Linked DNA regions of Homo sapiens: regions 1 and 2 are each linked to region 3. Evidence: promoter capture Hi-C in 16 types of primary human blood cells and fetal thymus (Javierre and others, 2016). All regions are on one chromosome and are shown on one strand. The core of a region is centred on a gene start or on the middle of the fragment in contact, and the rest is flanking DNA. Distances in the headings are between cores, read along the strand shown. Region 1 overlaps HPN-AS1 (HPN antisense RNA 1). Region 2 has its middle 4.6 kb from the start of LINC01766. Region 3 holds the start of CD22 (CD22 molecule).

Region 1 (3,069 bases), core at 114-2,613, 260 kb before region 3:
GTGCCGACCTCCTCTCTCATCCTCTGACTTAGAATGCCTTAATTTACCGGGAATGCGGGCCAGCAGGTCTCCGCCTTACTTTACCCAGGTCCTATTTAAGATGGAGTTGCTCTGGTTCAAACGCCTCTGACAGCCATTCTGAGTTCTGTCTGCACTGTTGCTTTGTTGGAGGAGTGGAGGGGCTGGGGAGATTGTGATTCACTCAACAGCCATTCACTGGTTTCCCTTGTATGCCAGGGGTCAGTGAGCCTCAGTTTCTCCTCCTGCTCCCAGCAACCTTGCCACTCACCCCAAAGAGCTAGGAAGATATTTAAAAAGAATAATAACAGTCACAAGGTTGCTTTCAGTTCCTGCCAGGGTCTCAGTCTTCAGAAAAGCTGAATATGAAAATTACTTCCATGTCATTGTGGTGCCGCTCAGAATCAGAAATATTTGACCCATCTTACAGAATTAGTGCAACTACATCAGGAACCCAAGCCAAGTTTTGCATTCCTATTTAGCATTTATATCTACATAGTCCTTTTCAAATATAGAAAAGCTTTCTGGATGTTAGTTGGAACAGATAGCTCCATATGTGGTTATAAGTTGGCATTCTCCCAGCTGGGTTGAAGGAGAAATGTACAGCTACTCTGCCACAACAGTTATTTCATACATAAAATCACAGCCATGATTAGCAATGATGGTGAAGGCTATTCATTTTATATTCAGAAATAATTATTGTGAACATTCAGATAGCAGCATAAGTAGGGAGATGGACTTTAGTTTCTGCATAAAAAGTAACACTGTTTCAATCCTGCAGTTATGAAGCGAGGAGCTGTTTTGGCTCTTGCTGCATGACATACCACCCAAAGCTAGTGGGTACAGTAAATGCTCATGGATTCTGCAGCTCAGAAAGTTGGACAGGGAACAGCAGGCACAGCTTGTCTCTGCTCCCTGATGACCAGGTCCTTAGCTAGAAAGCCTAAAGGAACAGGGACTGGAATAGGGAGGCTTCTTTTGTTTGTTTGTTTTGAAACAGGGTCCCACTCTGTCGCCCAGGCTGGAGTGCAGTGGTGTGATCATGGCTCACTAAAACTTCTACCACCTGGGCTCAATCGATCCTCCCAACTTAGCTTCCCAAGTAACTGGGACTACGGGTGTGTGCCACCATACCCAACTAATTTTATTTTTTTTTTGTAGAGATGGGACTGGTTGCCCAGGCTGGTCTTGAACTCCTGGGCTCAAGTGACCCTCCTGCCTCGGTATCCCAAAAGGAGGCTCTTTACTCACAAGTCTAGTATCCGGGCTGGGATCACTCAAAAGCTGAGCTCAGCTGGTACTGTGGACTCATTGTCTGGCTAACTTGGGCTTCCTTCCAATATGGCTACCCAAGGACATTTGAACTTCTCACGTGGTGGCTCATGGCTCCAGAGTGAGCATTCCAGCAGACACTGGCCTTTACACCCCAGCCTCATTTCTGCTCCACTCTGTCAGCTGAAGCAATCACAAACCTGTCCAGACCCTAGAGGAGGAGATGGAGACCCCACCCTTTGGTGGTGGAAGGCAGGTCAAAAAATTTGGGGCCACATCTTAAAACTGCCCTAGGAGCTTATGGACTATCGGAGCAAATTAACAGCTGACAAAGCAGAGAAATGATCCCTCAGTAAGGTGTTCAACCTGAAATATTTCCCTGCTAAAATTGTGGATAATAAAATTATGACAGTAATAACTTTTTAGAACACTTTCACATTTGTTCTTACATTACAGAAGTTCATTCTAAGAAGGTGATAGTCAGCTTTGGGCAAATCTTTAATTTAATACTTCACTAATTAGCATTTGGCCACAATGCCTGTTTCACTTCTAAATAATAATAATAATTTATATTAATAAACATATCCATGCATATTTTTGAGCACTTCCTATGTGACAGGTACTGTACTGAGAGTTTTATACATGTTACTTCAGTATTTCCCCAAATTCAGATGTTTGAAAGTGGCTGTCTTAATTTTTGCTATTCATTCATTCAAATAATATTTATTAAGCACCTATTATGTGCCAGACACTGTTCTAGGAATTGGAGAAATATAGGGGACAGGACAAACCAACTTTATGGAGCTTAGGGGCAAACAAATACCGCTGGTACTACTTGTATTGTTTTATTCAAATTATCTCTTTTCCTTTTGTGTGTGTGTGTGTGTGTCTTTTTTTTTTAAGCTTAGCCTTGACTTTATTTATGTATTATTTTTATTGATTTATTTATTTTGAGACCGGGTTATGAGACTGGCTAATTTTTGTATTTTTGATAGTGATGGGGTCTCGCTATGCTGCCCAGGCTGGTCTCAGACTCCTGGGCTCAAGCGATCCACCTGCCTTGGCCTCCCAAAGTGCTAGGATTACAGGCATGAGCCACTGTGCCCTGCCAGCCTTGACTTTAACAATAATGTTTATGAAACTGTGGGTTTGAGGCCGGGTGCAGTGGCTCATACCTGCAATCCCAGCACTTTGGGAGGCCGAGGCGGGTGGATCACGAGGTCAGGAGATTGAGACCATCCTGGCTAACACGGTGAAACCCCATCTCTACTAAAAATACAAAAAAATTAGCCAGGCATGGTGGCGGGTGCCTGTAGTCCCAGCTACTCAGGAGGCTGAGACAGGAGAATGGCGTGAAGCCGGGAGGTGGAGCTTGCAGTGAGCCGAGTTTGCGCCACTGTACTCCAGCCTGGGCGACAGAGCGAGACTCTGTCTCAAAAAAAAAAAAAAAAAAAAAAAGAAACTGTGGGTTTGATGTGGCGGTGGCAGATATATGTTTTTCAATATAAATCAAAACAAATGTATTAAATAAACAAATGCTAGTGAAATAATAACAATTCCTTCTTCACTGCCATCCTATACTCTCCCGGGGTTTCCCGCCAGCAGCCCATGTGCCGCCCTTTGGGAAACACTTGTTTCATCGCCATGCAAGCTGGGAAGGAGGGTCTGTGGGGTTTGCTGTCCTACAGAGGGGCTGCATATCCCGTCCAAGGTCCACCTCCGAGGGGCAGGGCTGGCGCTGGGGCCTGGGGCTGGAACAGCTCGGGATATGGCACTGAG
Region 2 (2,830 bases), core at 146-2,645, 260 kb after region 3:
GGCCAATATGGTGAAACCCCCATCTCTACTAATAATACAAAAATTAGCTGGGCATGGTGGCACACAACTGTAATCCCAGCTGCTCGGGAGGCTGAGGCAGGAGAATCACTTGAACCCGGGAAGCGGAGGTTGCAGTAAGCCAAGATCACGCCATTGCACTGCAGCCTGGGTGACAAGAGCGAAACTCCATCTCCAAAAAAAAAAAAAAAAGTTGGAGTGAACATGCCTGCAAAATCTTCTGGGCCTGTAATCTTTTTCGTGTAGCAGATTTTGAGTACTTTGTCTTCACTATGATGGTGAAAGCAGCAACTCTCGGAGTCAAGTACAAGCCACTGTTATGAGCAGCTTCGGAGTATTGATTCTTTTGGTCTCCACACTAACCCTATAGCCTGCATTCTTACAGACTGAGGATAAAGCACAGGGAGCTGGAAAGACACAGTGCAGGTCTCACAGCGAATTCACTGAGGGGCCAGGATTGGGAACCAGGAAATCTGCCACCAAAAGCCGTGTTCTTAAGCACTAGGTGGACAACACTGCCTCCCATCGACCGTTAGTAGCAATTCAATCTTTTTACCTGCTGGAGTCACTTGTTAATCACTTACCTTTCTCTTAACAAATCATTTTTATTTTCGACATAGAAGCTAACTTGAAGGAGCGCCCACTGGCCCAGAGTGGTACAACTTAAACATCAAAAATATTAATAACGGCCAGGCGCGGTGGCTCACTCCTGTAATCCCAGGACTTTGGGAGGCTGAGGCAGGTAAATCAATTGAGGTCAGGAGTTCGAGACCAGCCCGGCCAACATGGTGAAACCTCGTCTCTACTAAAAATATAAAAATTAGCCAGCCGTGGTGACAGTCACCTGTAATCCCAGCTACTCGGGAGGCTGATGCAGGAGAATCGCTTAGAGCTCGGGAGTCGGAGGTTGTAGTGAGCCGAGATGGCGCCATTGCACTCCAGCCTGGGCAACAAGAGCAAAACTCCGTCTCAAATAATAATAATAATAATAATAGTAATAACAATAATAGATTTAAACACACCAAATATATATCATATTTAATGATGAAGGATGGAATACTTTCCCTATAAGATCAACAACAAGGAAAGGATGTCTGCTCTTGACACTCCTATTTGACATAGTGCTGGAAGTTCTAGTCACTGCAAGAAAAAAACGCAAACAGGGCCCGGCGCAGTGGCTGACGTCTGTAATCCTAACACTTTGGGAGGCAGGAGGATCACTTGAGACTAGGATGTCAAGACCAGCCTAGGCAACACAGCATGACCCCATCTCTACAAAAAATATTAAAAAATTAGCCAAGCATGGTGGCACATGCCTGTAGTCCTACCTGCTCAGGGGGCTGAGGCAGGGAGATCACTTGAGCCCAGGACTTTGAGACTGCAGTGAGCTATGATCACACCAACACTGCACTCCAGCCTGAGGAATAGAGTGAGACTCTGTCTCAAAAAAGAAAAAAAGGCATTTAGATTGGAAAGGAAGAAATAAAACTGTATCTGCAGGTGACATGAGATATGTGTGTGTGTGTGTGTCTGTGTGTGTAGTTGATGCAAAAATAATTGCGGTTTTTGCCATTGAAAGGAATGACTGCTGGGCATGGTGGCTCACGCCTGTAATCCCAGCACTTTGGGAGGGTTTTTTTTTTTTTTTTTTTTTTTGAGATGGAGTCTCACTCTGTCACCCAAGCTGGAGTGCAGTGGTGTGGTCTCGGCTCACTGCCAGCTCCGCCTCCCGGGTTCACGCCATTCTCCTGTCTCAGCCTCCCGAGTAGCCGGGACTACAGGCACCCGCCACCACGCCCAGCTAAATTTTTGTATTTTTAGTAGAGACGGGGTTTCACCTTGTTAGCCAGGATGGGCTCGATCTCCTGACCTCGGGATCTGCCCTCCTCAACCTCCCAAAGTGCTGGGATTACAGGCATGAGCCACCGTGCCTGGCGTTTTTCTTTTCGTTTTTTTTTTTTCTTTTTTTTTTTTTTTTGGAGATAGAGTCTCACTCTGTCACCCAGGCTGGAGTGCAGTGGTGTGATCTTGGCTCACTGCAACTTCCACCTCCTGGGTTCAAGCGATTCTCCTGCCTCAGTCTCCCTAGTAGCTGGGATTACAGGCGCCCACCACCATGCCCAGCTAATTTTTGTATTTTTAGTAGAGACGGGGTCTCACCATGTTGGCCAGGCTGGTCTTGAACTCCTGACCTTAGGTGATCCACCTACCTCAGCCTCTCAAAGTGCTGGGATTACAGGCGTGAGCCACAGCCCTGGACGGATGTATTTTCAATACATGTCTTTATAATGCATGTGAAAGCTAACGCATACATGGGAGACAATGAAGGGACCAATATGGTGGAAGTTTTCCATATTCCACTTGAAGTTGCAAAATATTCAATCTAGGTAGACTATAGAATGTTTAAGTGTGTTTACCATAATCCGTAGAGCAATCACTTAAAACTTGCAAAGATATATAGTGAAAATCACAATAAATAAATTAAAATGGAGTACTAAAATAGTATTTGAATAATCCAAAAGAAAGAAGGAAAAGGGAAAACAAGGAACAAAACACAGAAAAGTGGAAATAAAAAACAAATAATAGTAGACCTAAAGCAAAACATACCAATAATCATATTTAAGGCACATGATCTAAACACACAAGTTATAAAATATTTTCATAATGCACTTAAAAAAAAAATAGCCAGAGCCGGGCGCGTTGGCTCACACCTGTAATCCCAGCACTTTGGGAGGCCAAGGCAGGCAGATCACGAGGTCAGGAGACCATCGTGGCCAACAAGGTGAAACCCTGTCTCTACTAAAAATACAAA
Region 3 (2,720 bases), core at 221-2,720:
GTTGGTCTCAAACTTCTGGCCTTAAGCAATCCTCTTGCCTTGCTCTCCCAAAGCGTATTACAGGCATAAGTCACCACACCCAGCCCTATCGGTGCTTTTGGAAGAAGGTGTTCTTCCCTCTCTCTGTTTCCCTCCCTATGGCCAGCTGCCCATAGAGGGCAGTGGTGCTGGAGTGAAGACCTCTCAGCGCATCCCTCTTCATCTGTAGGATGTGCATGGCTTCCAATGCTGTCTGTTCTGCTCCTGAGACACTCGCTGGCTACAGGATTATAAAGGTGATGAGGTTTCAGCCTAAAGACTCTCCATTCAATAACACTTCCTACAAGATATCTTTTTTGTTTTTTTGAGACAGGATCTGGCTCTGTCACCCAGGCTGGAGTGCCACAGCGCGATCTGCTCACTGCAACCTCAGCCTCTCGGGCTTAAGTGATTCTCCTGCCTTAGCCTCCTGAGTAGCTGGGACCACAGGCGCCCGCCACCACACCCAGCTAATTTTTGGATTTTTTTTTTTTTTTTTTTTAGTAGAGATGGGGTTTTACCATGTTGCCCAAGCTGGTCTTGAACTCCTGAGCTCAGGCAATCCACCCGCCTTGGCCACCCAAAGCGCTAGGATTACAGGCATGAGCCACCATGCCCAGTCCTACAAGATATCTTTTCTTTTTCTTTCTTTCTTTCTTTCTTTCTTTTTTTTTTTTTGAGACAGAGTCTCACTCTGTCACCCAGGCTGGACTGCAGTGGTGTGATCTCTTCTCACTGCAGCCTCCGCCTCCTGGGCTCAAGTGATTCTCCTGCCTCAGCCCCCTGAGTAGCTGGGACTACAGGCGCCTGCCAAAACACTTAGCTAATTTTTTGTATTTTTAGTAGAGACGGAATTTCACCATGTTCGCCAGGCTGGTCTCGAATTCCTGACCTCAAGTGATCCACCCGCCTCAGCCTCCCAAAGTGTTGGGATTCCAGGCATGAGCCACCGCACCCGGCCGAGATATCTTTTTCCTCCTCAATATCTATGTGCTCCTCCCTCAACCCTTGGGGGCTTCAGTGTAGGTGGTCAGATTCCCCACCATTTATGCCTATGATGAAAAGAGTGGAAATGGTAATAACTGGATGGTGTCACTAAACTACAAATACTTTCAGGTAGGCCTGTGCCTTTTTCAGCGGGCTGCAGTTCTCCTGCTTGGCTTGAGTCATTCGCATTTCCTGAGAGCTGGGTAGAGGGGGAGTTGTGGAGGAGCCCATTCTGAAACTGATCTGATATTGCAAACCCATACACGGAAAGGAAGAACTGCCCATACGTATTCGAGTCTTCCAATCTGACTCCGAGCCCGCATCCCCCTCAATCGTCTCTTTTCCCCACTCCCCAGATCACGGTGCTGCTTGGTCCCCCTCAGAGCCATAGAGAAGCAGGGGGTGTGGCCATGGAGGGGAAACCTCTGTCACCAGAGACTTTACTGTACTTCTCCTTTTGCTCTCAGATGCTGCCAGGGTCCCTGAAGAGGGAAGACACGCGGAAACAGGTAAAAATCATTTTGCTTTTATTTTGCATTCAACAAGCAAGTTATTACGGAACAGCAGTTATGGGCCAGGCATACCTCCCAGAGCTGGGAACACAGTGGGGACCTCCCTGGCTCTCTCTTACCGGTGTTACAACAGGTTGTAGACAGACCCCTGTCTTGAGCATCCTCCTTGCCAGGCCTGCTGAGTCTTCTGAGAGTAGGGTAGGTTATTGGATGCCCAGGAGGGAAGAAGGAGCCAGGGAGGTCAGCCCCAAGGTTCTGCAAGGCCCTCAACAGGCCTGGACTGAGGAGGTCTGGACAGCATGGCCCTGTCCTGAGCCTCTGTGCATAATAACTGCTGTCCCTAACCTCCACCCCACCCTCAGCCTTCCAATTCCCGGGCCTGGGGCCCTACTCCTGTGCTCCAGAGACTCCTGGAGCTCCTTGAGGCAGCACACAGTCCTGCTCTGGAGGCGCCCATCTCCCACTCATGCTGGGATGCTCCAGCCCGTCCCAGAGCAGGTTGTGGCTGGAGGGTGCTGGCAGAGGAGGGACAATGGCCCGGCTCCTGGAGGCAAGTGTTGGCTGCAGGGAACGGAGTCTAGTCCTTGCCACAGCCCTTGTTACCCCTTAGGTAACCTTAAGGGGATTTCAAAGAACTCTGGCTCTGCAACCCTGCTAAGTTTTTTATGGAACATGTAAAATAGATCCCATGGCCAAAGAAGTATGGACAATGTATTATACTATACTCTAATCCCCATGTCTAGAGATTAATGGTGTAGATAGAGTTTACTGAAAGGTTTTTAAAGTCCTGCAGTAAAGAATCTTACTTAAGCCAGGTGCGGTGGCTCACGCCTGTCATCTCAGCACTTTGGGAGGCCAAGTTGGGGGGATCACCTGAGGTCAGGAGTTTGAAACCAGCCTGGCCAACATGGTGAAACCCCATCTCTACTAAAACAAACAAACAAACAAACAAATCAGACGGGTGTGGTGGCACATGCCTATAGTCCCAGCTACTCAGGAGGCTGAGGCAGGAGAATCACTTGAACCCTGGAGGCAGAGGATGCAGTGAACTGAGATCACACCACTGCACTTCAGCCTGGGCGACAGAAGAATGAGACTCTGTCTCAAAAGAAAAAAAAAGAATCTTACTTAACTCTTTTACCCTGCCTTTCTCAAGTGTATGTGACCTTGAAGATGTTTTTTGCATGTGACATGATGAGTACC

The links. Contacts are between HindIII fragments. The CHiCAGO score rates a contact against its expected background, and 5 or more counts as called.
Region 1: a contact is called between a fragment that was not itself captured here and the fragment with the promoter of CD22 in region 3, in 4 of 17 cell types (total B cells, non-activated CD4 T cells, total CD4 T cells and 1 more). The highest score is 7.2, in total B cells.
Region 2: a fragment that was not itself captured here is called in contact with the fragment with the promoter of CD22 in region 3 in 1 of 17 cell types (M1 macrophages); the score reaches 5.3 in M1 macrophages.

Annotation. Positions count from the first base shown.
Region 1 is chr19:35,069,321-35,072,389 of GRCh38, forward strand. The region is part of intron 3 of HPN-AS1 (HPN antisense RNA 1); the gene reads right to left. Among named protein-coding and RNA genes, the nearest start is that of HPN, 29 kb to the left of the region's middle. RefSeq lists a silencer at 1,311-1,511. The HindIII fragment of the contact is 1,655 bases long and covers 537-2,191 here.
Region 2 is chr19:35,591,921-35,594,750 of GRCh38, forward strand. No RefSeq gene overlaps it. Among named protein-coding and RNA genes, the nearest start is that of LINC01766, 4.6 kb to the right of the region's middle. The HindIII fragment of the contact is 9,877 bases long and covers 1-2,830 here.
Region 3 is chr19:35,327,717-35,330,436 of GRCh38, forward strand. It overlaps CD22 (CD22 molecule), which reads left to right and starts at 1,471. Exons shown (of 14, transcript NM_001771.4): 1 at 1,471-1,514. RefSeq lists enhancers at 2,048-2,097, 2,168-2,217. The HindIII fragment of the contact is 19,927 bases long and covers 1-2,720 here.